2 separate regions of the Homo sapiens genome follow, and region 1 is linked to region 2. The links are contacts of gene promoters, found by promoter capture Hi-C in blood cells and fetal thymus (Javierre and others, 2016). All regions are on one chromosome and are shown on one strand. The core of a region is centred on a gene start or on the middle of the fragment in contact, and the rest is flanking DNA. Distances in the headings are between cores, read along the strand shown. Region 1 overlaps OCLN (occludin). Region 2 holds the start of MARVELD2 (MARVEL domain containing 2).

Region 1 (3,250 bases), core at 229-2,728, 85 kb before region 2:
CTGCCTTGGCCTCCCAAAGTACTGGGATTACAGGCATGAGCCAATACACCTGGCCAATTTCTCTATATTCTAGTAATGGTGAAACACACATACAAATGAGCAATTTAGGCGAAAATGTTATGGTACTATAAAAAGGCAAAAGTCCAGATTGTCTTCAGAAAAAGAACATTAAGGAATACTGAATTTAGGCCAGGTGAGGTGGCTCACACCTGTAATTCCAGCACTTGGGAGGTGGAGACAGGTGGATCACCCTAGGTCAGGAGTTCGAGACCAGCCTGGCCATCATGGCAAAACCCCGTCTCTACTAAAAATACAAAAATTAGCTGGGCATGGTGGCACGTGCCTGTAATCCCAGCTACTTGAGAAACTGAGGCATGAGAATCGCTTGAGCCCGAGGTGGAGGTTGCAGTGAGCCAAGATTGTGCCACTGCACTCCAGCGTGGGTGACAGAGCAAGACTCCTTTAAAAAAAAAAAGTAAAACAGAAAATCTGAAGTTAAGCACTATTAAATGTGGGATCCTAGTTCTGAAGCTGAATGTCAAATATCCCCAAATTCTAGGTTCAGTGGTAGTTTTGGAAACTCTAAATTAATCCAGACTCAGTCTTAAGTTGTCAAAAATTCAAACAAGATCCCTTTTCAAACTGCTATTTCCAGGATTCAGAGTTGTCACGTCTCCCCAAAAGCACGGATTTTAAATTGTGAACCAAATCATGTGGCTCATGCCTGTAATCCCAGCACTTTGGGAGGCCGAGGCAGGTGGATCACATGAGGTCTGGAGTTCAAGACCAGCTGACCAATGTGGTGAAACCCTATCTCTACTAAAAATACAAAAAATTAGAGGGGCGTGGTGGTGCATGCCTGTAAACCCAGCTACTTGGGAGGCTGAGGTAGCAGAATTGCTTGAACCTGGGAGGCGGAGTTCGCAGTGAGCCAGTATTGCGCCATTGCACTCCAGCCTGGGCAAAAAGAGCAAAACTCCGTCTCAAAAAAAAAAAAAAGAAAAGAAAGCTCGTTAAGAACAAGTCATGCCACACCAACTTCATTTCCTTTTCTGGGAAGGTTACCAAACTGGTGGATTTTATTTTCTCCTTTATTATTTCCTCTTCAGGGAATGCAGAGAGAAAGAATCCTGAAAATCTTGAGCACATCCTTGTGTGGGTGGGCAGATTCCCAAGGGGCTGGATTACGGCACCCAATTAGCACAAAAGAATGAACCATTTATGTCCACCTGGTGGGAGGTCTCCACTGGTAAACACAGACAAAGTGGAGGAGACACGCTTATCCAGATTTGCAGCTGACCAAACACACTGGAAAGGATAACTAACCCATTGGCTAGGGCCATCAACACTAAGCAAGATCTCTGTAATGTCAGAATGATGAGTTTGAAACAACCTAGTGGTTTTAACAGCCCCCATTTACTGGCTCGCAATCTGAGACAAATTCCTTATCTCCTCTAAGTGCACTCAAATGCGGGAATAATCCTGACCTCTGCACTGGGATAAGAAAAAGTCTTAAAGAGCTGGGCGCAGTGGTTCACGCCTGTGATCCCAGCACTTTGGGAGGCCGAGGCGGGTGGATCACGAGGTCAAGAGATCAAGACCATCCTGGTCAACATAGTGAAACCCTGTCTCTACTAAAAAAATACAAAAATTAGCTGGGCTTGGTGGCGCGCGCCTGTAGCCCCAGCTACTCAGGAGGCTGAGGCAGGAGAATCGCTTGAATCCAGGAGGAGGAGGTTGCAGTGAGCTGAGGTCACGCCACTGCACTCCAGCCTGGCGACGGAGCGAGACTCCGGCTCAAAAAAAAAAGAAAGAAAAAAACCACAAGAAAAAGTCTTCAAGAAAATGGGCAACTGCATTCATCATAAGGTGGTTATCCTGAAAGTAAGAAATTTCAGTGCTTAGGCACTTAGGTATATTGTATCCATTTTCAAATACAGCTGACCCTCCACATCCATGGGTTTTAAATTCTGATTCAACCAACCTCAGACAGAAAATATTCAGGGGAAAAAAAAATTAAAAATTACAGGGCAGGTACAGTGGCTCACACCTGTAATCCCAACACTCTAGGAAGCTGAAGCAGGAAGATCACTTGAACCCAGGAGTCCAAGACTGACCACAGCAACATAGTAAGACCCCATCTCCACAAAAAATTTTTCTTAAAATTAGCCAGGCATGGTGGCACATCCCTGTAAGTTCCAGCTACTCAAGAGACTGAGATGGGAGGATCTCTTGAGCAGAGGAAGTTGAGGCTGGAGTGATCATGCCACTATACTCCAGCCTGAGTAACAGTAATACCCTGTCTAAAAAAATAATAAACAATAAAACAAAAAATAGATTTTTAAAACTACAATATCACAATTCTACATAGTATTTACATTGTATACGGTATTATAACTAGAGATTATTTAAAGTCTACAAGAGGTCTGGGTGCAGTGGCTCACACCTGTAATTCCAGCTCTTTGGGAGCCCAAGACGGGCGGATCACTTGAGGTCAGGAGTTCGAGACCAGCCTGGCCAACATGGTGAAACCCTGTCTCTACTAAAAATACAAAAATTAACTGGGATTGTGCCGGGTGCCTGTAATCCCAGCTACTCAGGAGGCTGAGGCAGGAGAATCGCTTGAGCCCAGGAGGCAGAGTTTGCAGTGGGCCAAAATTGCATCACTGCACTCCAGCCTAGATGATGGAGTGAGATTCTGTCTCAAAAAAACAATTAAAAAAAAAAGTATACAAGAGCATTTAGGCCATATGCAAATACAAAGCTATTTTATAACAAGGACTTCAGCATCCTCAGATTTTAGTATCATGGGGGTCCTGGAAGCAACCTCTCACAGATACTGAAGGGTGACTATATTGGTGGCATAAATGAGTCATTTTTAAAATGTAAACTGATTTTTTTTTTTTTTGAGACAGGAGTCTTGCTCTGTCATCCAGCCTGGAATGCAATGGCGTGATCTCGGCTCAATGCAACCTCCACCTCCCAGGTTCAAGCAATTCTCCCACCTCAGCCTCCTGAGTAGCTGAGATTACTGGCACATGCCACCAGGCCAGGCTAATTTTTGCATTTTTAGTAGAAACGGGGTTTCACCATGTTAACCAAGCTGGTGTCAAACTCCTGACCTCAGGTGATCCACCCACCTCAGCCTCCCAAAGTGCTGGGATTACAGGCATGAGCCACCATGCCCAGCCATAAACTGAATTTTTAAAAAGTCAATTCCATAGTACAGTATAGAGGAGAACTAATTTAA
Region 2 (2,875 bases), core at 180-2,679:
CTCCACCCCTCCAGCTTAGCCTTGGGGAGCAGCAGACTGAAGAGTGTTTCAGATGCGTTAAAAATCCAGGTAGAGACGTTAAGAGGGCAAGCAAGGCACACAGGGTATGTACAGACTGGAGACAAGGGAATGCGGTGGAAACCCAGGGTCTTCTAATAGGGCACTCCGACCTTAGAGGATTAACTGTGATGGCCCCAGCAGGGTGCCCAATGCAAAGCGGCTCTGTATATTATAACAATCAGTTATTTTTGTACCTTTCTCTTTCTTTCTCTAAAAAAGTGTAAGTTCTAGAAATGCTATTACGACTCTAGTTTTTGAAACACATTCCTAAGAAATGTAGAAGCAAAAGCACAACAAATGATTTTAGCAAGTTTTACACAGCATTTACAGGATACGCTATGCTTAATTCAACTCACTGGTAAAAATACGATTCACTGTAATGGATTTAACTCTTCACCTGTGAAGTGGCTTATTTGAATCAAACCACCCTATCCATTTTTAAAGAAAAAACAAGCAATTATTAAAGAGTTGTGGAAAAGCAAGATAATGTGATTTTTAGAAGGGAATGGTTAGCTGTATTTCATTACATCTTAAATATCTGGATACCCCTAATGTCTTTCAAGATGTCACTGAGAGTTCGTTCTGGTCCCGCAGGTCGCGGCAGCGTGTGTCTTTGTCCTGCTCAGGCCCCGGACCCTTACTCCACTCTTGGACACTCATCTTGGAAAGCCGCGGCAATGGCAGGAGAAATGGCTGCCCCAGCAAAGTGTCACAGGAATCATGCCTGGTCACCTTTACACAAACAGAACCACCGGTTTACCTGGCTTAAAAGTTTTGCTGGACCCAAGAAACGGGTAGATTTCGGATACTTCTGCGCTTCCGAGGGGTCGGGAAAGGCTCTGCGGTTCTAACTAACCCACGACTGCCCGGGGGTACCGAGCATTTTAGCTGTGGGGTCTCCCCCGCGCCAGCCTCTGGGCGCCCGGTCCCACAAATCTCATTGTGTCCTCGGTTCTGCCCGCGCCGGCTAGGCGTTCGTCTTCGCGTTTCTGGCTGAAACCCACTGTCTTTGGAGATTCCGACCCAACGAGGCCGAAACTAAGCCGGGAGACCTCCCAGGTAAGGAGCACCGAGATCGCCCCGAGGTGCGCGCCCCGCCCCGCGCCCGGAAGGACGGCGGCTCGGCCGCACCTGCGTCCGCAGAGCGAAACCTGGCGGGACGCGGGCCTCCCCGGATCCCTGGCTCCGGCCTCCCCCGCGGGCTATGGCAGGCTGAGCGCCGAGCGCGGGCAGCCGTCCGTCGCAGCACACCTGGGCCGGGGGCCGCCGGGCCCTCCTCTCCCGGTCACGTGGCCCCACCCCGGTCCCACTTACCTGCGCAGCCGCCAGGAAGAGCGCGCACGCTGCCCAGGACTCTGAAACCGGTATCGGGCTCCCGGGGTGGGGGCGGGGCCGGGACGGGACGAGCCCAGCTTTCCCCGCCCGGCTTTGCCCCGCCCGGATCTGTCGGCCCGACAACCGCTCTGGGCCCAGGCTGCTCGGTGCCACCAGCCGGCACGTCGCGGCAATGACCACACACTGGGCTCTTTTGGAAAGAGTTTACAGTTCTCATCGCAACGTTGCCATCCTCTTCCCTATCTTTTGAAAAGTTTGACACTGGGGGAGGGAGATTGGTGCACTGTGCTTAAGGACCCATGGCAGCGAGTGCGTGCTAGATAATGTTAAAAGACAGGAGAAACAAAATTAAATTCAACATTTTAATTGTGATATAACTTATGTAAATACTTTCCAAAAAGTATCTAAGATATTCCACTGTACAACACATCAAAACTATCTGAGAAGCGGGAGACAATAAAGTGTAAATAAGGCACACAGTTTACACTCGTAATTGCATCCTAAACTGTTGAATAGTTGATATTTACAACCCCCCAATAACGTTTTTGCATCCTGAATTAGTCCTTCACATCTTGATATTTGGCATAATGTTCAAACACACTTTATACACACTGACCGCTCCTTAAACCACTCACAGATTTAATAAATACCGAAAAAATTAAGAGATTTGAAGGCTTGATCTTCTATTTACTTCAAGATGACAGAAGAGTAGGTTTCTTGTGATGAAATACTACAAGAATGAAGAATTAACAAACTGTTGTGTAATTCATCAGAAAAGCATATTAACTCTGCTGAAGTACCACTGAATGAAACAAAAATGAAGCTGTGAAGTAGCAATCTGATTAGCAGGCTGGCTTCTATGTCCCATCACTCTCGTAGTCTTCTATTATTATGTTTTCTTCCATGTCTCCTTGGGCTGAAAAGGGCTGGGGCTGGCTAGCAGGCAGTTCACTGGCACTATTCTGACTCAAAGGAAGAGACCAGGTTTCCGGCACAGTGGCTTGAGTGGGTTCACCCAGAGATTCCTCTGCAGAATGTCCTCCATTAAGCTGGGCTTCATCTCCGCTGTCAGGGTCTATCATTCCATGTTCCCTGTCAGTCAGGGCTTCCATTTTCAATCTGTCAGATTCACAGTGCAGGCATTAATAAGAACCAAAGGAGAAGATTTTTAAATTACACCATGAGTGTGATGATTATGAAGCCATCTTTCATTTACCTACATTGTGCTGTTTAGCTAGTCCCTTTAACTATAAAAACAAAACTACAAGGTAAATGACAAACTGAATAAGTTCCTACAACTTAAAATACAAAAAGGAGCTGAACACGATGGCTCATGCCTGTACTATCTGCACTGTGGGAGGCCAAGGCAGGCAGATCACTTGAGGCCAGGAGTTCAAGACCAGCCTGGCCAACATGGCAAAAACCCATCTCTATTGAAAATAGAAAAATTAGCCAGGCGTGGTGGCACGCATCTGTAATC

Evidence for each region. The method cuts DNA at HindIII sites, captures the fragments that hold promoters and counts their contacts. A CHiCAGO score of 5 or more calls a contact.
Region 1: a fragment that was not itself captured here is called in contact with the fragment with the promoter of MARVELD2 in region 2 in 1 of 17 cell types (neutrophils); the score reaches 5.3 in neutrophils.

What each region holds. Positions count from the first base shown.
Region 1 is chr5:69,498,153-69,501,402 of GRCh38, reverse strand. The region is part of intron 1 of OCLN (occludin); the gene reads right to left. Among named protein-coding and RNA genes, the nearest start is that of OCLN, 7.0 kb to the right of the region's middle. RefSeq lists an enhancer at 1,072-1,621. The HindIII fragment of the contact is 5,611 bases long and covers 1-3,250 here.
Region 2 is chr5:69,413,670-69,416,544 of GRCh38, reverse strand. MARVELD2 (MARVEL domain containing 2) reads right to left here and starts at 1,429. Exons shown (of 7, transcript NM_001038603.3): 1 at 1,375-1,429. RAD17 (RAD17 checkpoint clamp loader component) reads right to left here. Exons shown (of 19, transcript NM_133338.3): 19 at 1,744-2,514. The coding sequence ends at 2,253. RefSeq lists enhancers at 1-768, 769-1,652. The HindIII fragment of the contact is 19,290 bases long and covers 1-2,875 here.